Regions from separate parts of the Homo sapiens genome. Here region 1 is linked to region 2. Evidence: promoter capture Hi-C in human tissues and cell types (Jung and others, 2019). All regions are on one chromosome and are shown on one strand. Each heading gives the region's core, a stretch centred on a gene start or on the middle of the fragment in contact. The rest is flanking DNA. Distances are from core to core; before and after follow the strand shown.

Region 1 (3,088 bases), core at 218-2,717, 480 kb after region 2:
ATCACGGCTCACTGCCTCGACCTCCCAGGCTCAAGTGATCCTCCTGCCTCAGCCGCCTGAGTATTCTTTGTAGAGATGCAGTTTCACCATGTTGCCCAGGCTGGATAGACTTTCAAATGTTCCTGGCTTATGATTTATCTAGCCTTAAAAAAAAAACAAAAAAAACAAAAAAAAAACTAGGCCAGGTGCGGTGGCTCACACCTGTAAACCTATCACTTTGGGAGGCCTAGGTGGGTGGATTACTTGAGGTCAGGAGTTTGAGACCAGCTGGCCAACACGGTGAAACCCCATCCCTACAAAAAAAAAAATTAGCCAGGTGTGGTGGCATACACCTGAAATACCAGCTGCTCAGGGAGCTGAGGCAGAAGAATAGCTTTAACCTGGGAGGAAGAGGTTACAGTGAGCCAAGATCGTGCCACTGCACTCCAGCTTGGGCGACAGAGGGAGACCCCATCTCAAAAAAAATTCTAGAAAATGCCCAGCCTCTTTGAAATATTCTTTCCTGAAATTTTGATTGTCAAGTCTCACATTTATCTTCATTTTGTTGTTTTATAGACAGGATCTTGCTCTGTCACCCAGGCTGGAGTGCAGTGATGCCATCATAGCTCACTGCAACCTCAAGTTCCTGGGGTCAAGCAATCCTCCAGCCTGAGCCTCCAGAGAAGCTGGGACTATAGGCATGTGCCACATGTCTGATTTTTTAATTTTTTTTTAGAGACAAGGTCTCCTTATGTTGCCCAGGCTGGTCCCCAACTGAGGACCTCAAGCAGTCCTCTCTATGCCTCCCAAAAAGTTGGGATTACAGGTGTCAGCAACTACACCCAGCCTCTTCCATGTTTTTTAACCTCTTTTCCTTAGTTTCCACTTCTCTGTATGTCAGTGCTCTCTCTGTGTAACTTCAGATCTATTTCCAGTTCATTCTCCCTTTAGGGAGAAGTCTAATCTGCTGCTTAACCATAAAGTTTCTAACTTCTCGTAGTGTACTTTTTTTTTTCTGAGGTGGAGTATCACTCTTGTTGCCCAGGCTGGAGTGCAGTGGCGCAATCTTGGCTCACCGCAACCTCCGCCTCCTAGGTTCAAGCAATTCTCCTGCCTCAGCCTCCCAAGTAGCTAGGATTACAGGCATGCGCCACCACGCCCGGCTAATTTTTTGTATTTTTAGTAGAGACGGGGTTTCACCATGTTGGCCAGGCTAGTCTCGAACTCCCAACCTCAGGCGATCCACCCACCTCAGCCTCCCAAAGTGCTGGGATTACAGGCACGAGCCACCATGCCTGGCCCTACTTTTCATTTTTAAAAGGTTTTCTTTTTAAGTTTTACTTTTTTTTTTTTTTTTTTTGAGATGGAGTCTCGCTCTGTTCCCCAGGCTGGAGTGCAGTGGCACGATCTCGGCTCACTGCAAGCTCTGCCTCCCAGGTTCATGCCATCCTCCTGCCTCAGCCTCCAGAGTAGCTGGGACTACAGGCACCCGCCACCACGCCTGGCTAATTTTTTGTATTTTTAGTAGAGATAGGGTTTCACTGTACTAGCCAGGATGGTCTCCATCTCCTGACCTCGTGATCCACCCGCTTTGGCCTCCCAAAGTGCTGGGAACACAGGCGTGAGCCACCGTGACCGGCCTTAAGTTTTACTTTTTAATCACACCAGTTTAGTACCTTTTGATATTCATTTGTCACACTTTTTCTTTAAACATAAGACATTTTGTATTTTTTATTTTATACTTCTCACATTTTAATTTTTGCCAGTCTGGACGACAGAGTGAGACTCCATCTCAAAAACAAAAAACAAACAAAAAAAAAACAATCCTCAAGAAAGGATTACATTTGCTTCTGCCAGGACCCTGGAGACACTATCTACTTGAGACTTTTTTTTTTTTTGAGACGGAGTCTCGCTCTGTCGCCCAGGCTGGAGTGCAGTGGCGCGATCTTGGTTCACTGCAACCTCCGCCTCCCGCGTTCAAGCAATTCTCCTGCTTCAGCCTCCTGAGTAGCTGGGATTACAGGCGCCCACCACCACACCCGGCTAATTTTTGTATTTTTAGTAGAGACAGGGTTTCACCATGTTGGTCAGGCTGGTCTCGAACCCCTGACCTCGTGATCCACCTGCCTCTGCCTCCCAAAGTGCTGGGATTACAGGTGTGAGCCACCATGCCTGGCCATTTTTTTTTGGGGGGGGGGGCGCGGTGGTGATTTCACTCTTTTTGCCCAGGCTGGAGTGCAGTGGTGCGATCTTGGCTCACTGCAACCTCTACCTCCCAGGCTCAAGTGATTATCCTACCTCAGCCTCCTGAGTAGCTGGGATTACAGGCACCCACCACCACACCCAGCTAATTTTGTATTTTTAGTAGAGATGGGGTTTCACCATGTTGGCCAGGCTGGTCTTGAACTCCTGACCTCAGGTGATCCGCCTGCCTCGGCCTCCCAAAGTGGTGGGATTACAGGTGTGAGCCACCACGCCCAGCCTACTTGAGACTATTTTAAACTAAGTTATCAGCCTGAGGATTTTCCAGACCACATGGGTTATAAACTCTTGTCCCAAACAGTACTGAAGGCCAGCTGTGCTTGTATATTACCATGGAAGCTTTATATCCCTACCTCTTAACATCCCTTGCATCCAAAACCAAAGCCAAGTAGGGGAGTTGTGGGATTGGTTCACCCACTAAATGATCTTGTCATCCTTGAGGGGCCCAGATTTAAGTGGGAGGGGTTTCTGATCTGACTTCCCAGTTGTAGATGCCTTAGGCTTTATTGCCTATCCCAATATGTGGCCCACTAAAAAGTAGTTCTAGGCTACCCACAAATCCCACATAAAAGCAGAGGCCTTAAGGCCGGAACGGTGGCTCAACGCCTGTAATCCCAGCACTTTGGGAGTCTGAGGCAGGCAGATCACTTGAGGCCAAGAGTTTAAGATCAAACTAGCCAACATGGCAAAACTCTATCTCTACTAAAAATACGAAAGAAATTAGCTGGGCTTGGTGGCGGATGTCAGCTACTCGGGAGGCTGAGGCACAAGAATCACTTGAACCTGGGAGGTGGAGGTTGCAGTGAGGCGAGATTGCACCACTGTACTCTAGCCTGGGTGACAGAGC
Region 2 (3,126 bases), core at 626-3,125:
ACCGTCCTCAACGCCACAGCCAAAGCTGTTGCGGTGACCCTGCAGTCACACTGACCCCACCTGAAATTCTTGGCCAGTCCTCTTTCCCGCAGCTGCAGAGAGGAGGAAGACTATTAAAGGACAGTCCTGATGACATGTTTCGTAGATGGGGTTTGCAGCTGCCACTGAGCTGTAGCTGCGTAAGTACCTCCTTGATGCCTGTCGGCACTTCTGAAAGGCACAAGGCCAAGAACTCCTGGCCAGGACTGCAAGGCTCTGCAGCCAATGCAGAAAATGGGTCAGCTCCTTTGAGAACCCCTCCCCACCTACCCCTTCCTTCCTCTTTATCTCTCCCACATTGTCTTGCTAAATATAGACTTGGTAATTAAAATGTTGATTGAAGTCTGGAACTGCAGCGGCTGATCCAGTGGTCCTCCCTGTCATCCCGCTTCCTATATACTTTCCTACTCAGTCAACAGTGGTAATGTCATATGTTCCCTTCTTCATATCCTCACCCAGGCAAGATAAAGGTGGGACAGGCCAGACTACATAGAAGGCAGTGATTGAATATCACACCTGACCCATGAAGCGGCAGGGAGGCCTCAAGCACAAAAGCCATAAGCCTGATGGAACACTGCAGCCAGCTTGAGTCTGGGCTCAGCTGCTCTCTTGGGAAGCCAAGGAAGCAGTGACAATTGAACAAAACATCCCGACTTAAACCCCGTGTCAAAACAAGGATCTTCTGCACCTGGGCATTGTGTTGATAATTTTCCTGTGGAGCTCTTAATTGAAGCCAAATTTGGCTTTGCCTTGGTGGTACTGGGGCCAGCTCCTTTTAGTTTTTCTGTCTTTCCTCTTAAAACCAACCACCACTCCTAACATAGCACCATCCACCCCCACCACCTCTTTAATATGCTCCACTTAATAAGTTAATTCAGGTGGCTAAGAGTGGGAATAGGGCCTTTGACCTCCCTTCACTATATTGAATATTATATTTTATGTAAAATAATCATCTTAACACTAGTAAATCTGGGTCAGCAGCATCTATCCCTCCTAACAAAGGGACAAACAGAGGTGCCCTTCATTTGTCCTGCGTTACACAAGTGAGTCCCCCACCACCCTGGCCAGAGGACAAAGTTGAGACAGCACCGCCTGCACCGTGCAGTGTGGCTCAGCCGCCTTCACGTCCTCACCAGTGCTCCAGGGCCCTGGCCCTGGCACCTTCTTTGTATTGGCTGCCCCAGTCTCGCGGCACGGACACACCCTCAGATGTCAACAGTGCCCTGCGTACCTGAGAAGGTGTGGCACCAGGACCTTGCATCTATCTGAGGCTCCCCTGCCCTAGGGACCCTATGGGGTACCCTTCTCCCCAGCAGCTCAAGCTGGCTCTGCCCAGCCGTGGCCCCTGGGGCCTCCCTGATGAGGCCGCCATCTTGGCGAGGAGCAAGCGGGGAAGTCCCCATGGGCCGGGATCACCACGCACGCTGCGCCTCGAGTCACGGGGGCGGGAGCGAGGCGCGGCGCGGATGAAAGGGCCCTGGGGCCTTCCAAATAGGAGGGAACAGTGCCCTGGATTCCGGCGGGGGTATGGACCTTAGGAACGGGGAAGGATGGAAGAATGGGCAGAAGCAGCAGTAACCGTGCCCAACGCCATCTCCACGGGGCGTGCCTCCATTCCGCTCCCCGTCAGCCCTACCCACTCAGCCCTGCCGCCTGCCGCCTGCCAGTTGGCTGACCCCACTCCCAAGGGAAGAGCGGCCTATCGCTCCCAGCTCCTTGCCCCGAACCACCCAGTGTACGCGAACCTCGCGGGCCGGCGTGGCCTTGGCCGGGCAGGGGGCGGGGCGAGCGCCGGTGACGCGGCCGTTGCCATGGGAACTCGCCGCCCGCTCGCTCTCTGGAGCTGGAGCCGGAGCTGCCGCCAGCCGCCCGCCTCAGGCTCTCTCTGCCAGCCGTGCGGCCAGGCCCGCGGGGTGGTCGGGGGGAGCCGGGCGGCAGAGAAGGAGGGAGCGGGTACGGCCTCCTAGCCGAGACCGGTAAGCCGAAGCCCTTGAGCCGCTCGCTGCCGCTGCCGCCGCCGCCGCCGCGACCGCGAGGGACAAGGACAAGCGCCGAGCAGCGCCTGCCCAACCCCCGGAACGCGCACCCGCCCCAACGCCCAGACACGGACCGTGCGGGCCGCCCCCGCCCCAGCGCCGCCCCACTTCAGCCCGGCCCGCGCCCTGGACGCCTCCGCACCTCTGGCCGGCTCCGGCTCAGTCCCGGTAGCTCTTCTCCGCCCCCGCCGCAGCCTCCGCCGCAGCCGCAGCCTCCGCCACAGCCGCCGCCTCCACCCCCGGCCCCACTCCGCCCGCGACCCCTGCCGGGGCCCCGACCCCGGCCCTATCCCCGGCCCCGCCCGCGGCCCCACCAACCTCCGTTCCGGCCCCGTACCCGGAGGCCCAGCCGTGGGCACGATGCTGCCCAGCTCCATCCAGATTTCGGGGGAGCCGCTGTCCGGCGCCGAGGTGCGGGACATCTGCCGCGGCCTTCGCGACAACGCCGTGCGCCTGCTCTCACTGCGCGGCTGCCGCCTCTGCGACCGCGACTTTGGCCGCATCTGCCGGGCCCTGGCCGGGGCCACGTCCCTGGCGCAGCTCAACCTTAACCTGGGCGTCGTGTCCAGCCCCAGCCGCATCAAGCAGCTGGCTGAGGCTCTGCGGACCAACCGCTCCATCCAGTCCCTCTTGTGAGTGCGCCCCCTCGCAAGGGGGTCCCGGGCACTGCACCCTTCCATACACTCCCCTGGCACCTCCTGTTCCTCCACACTCCTTCCAGTACCATCCTACCTTCACATGCCTTATGCACATACACCGTGCCTCGGCCCATGCCTTCACAGCACCCTCCAAGCACATGCTTGGACTTTGCACGCGCGACCCTAGCCGTGTTGGGATACCCACCAGTTCCTGACATGAGGTGGGGGCCGTACCTCCCCACCTAATCATCTGCATTTACTTCACTGGGGCAGCTCCTTGGTTCCCAAGGGGGAATATCCCCGTGGGGACGAGAGCCCTGCCCACTGCAGAGTTCCGGTCCACCACCCACCCACCCCTTCTCTGCCCCTCCCTGTGCAATGTCCTGGATCCCTGCCCCAGAAAACAAACCGAA

The links. Contacts are between HindIII fragments. The study calls those that stand out against the background at their distance.
Region 1: a fragment that was not itself captured here is called in contact with the fragment with the promoter of LRRC73 in region 2 in 1 of the 25 tissues and cell types used here (spleen).

The regions. Positions count from the first base shown.
Region 1 is chr6:43,029,657-43,032,744 of GRCh38, reverse strand. No RefSeq gene overlaps it. Among named protein-coding and RNA genes, the nearest start is that of RRP36, 9.6 kb to the right of the region's middle. The HindIII fragment of the contact is 7,304 bases long and covers 1-3,088 here.
Region 2 is chr6:43,509,095-43,512,220 of GRCh38, reverse strand. LRRC73 (leucine rich repeat containing 73) reads left to right here and starts at 1,875. Exons shown (of 6, transcript NM_001012974.4): 1 at 1,875-2,707. The coding sequence starts at 2,436. It overlaps YIPF3 (Yip1 domain family member 3), which reads left to right. Exons shown (of 9, transcript NM_015388.4): 9 at 1-389. The coding sequence ends at 54. RefSeq lists silencers at 1,718-2,007, 2,028-2,297. The HindIII fragment of the contact is 5,504 bases long and covers 1,189-3,126 here.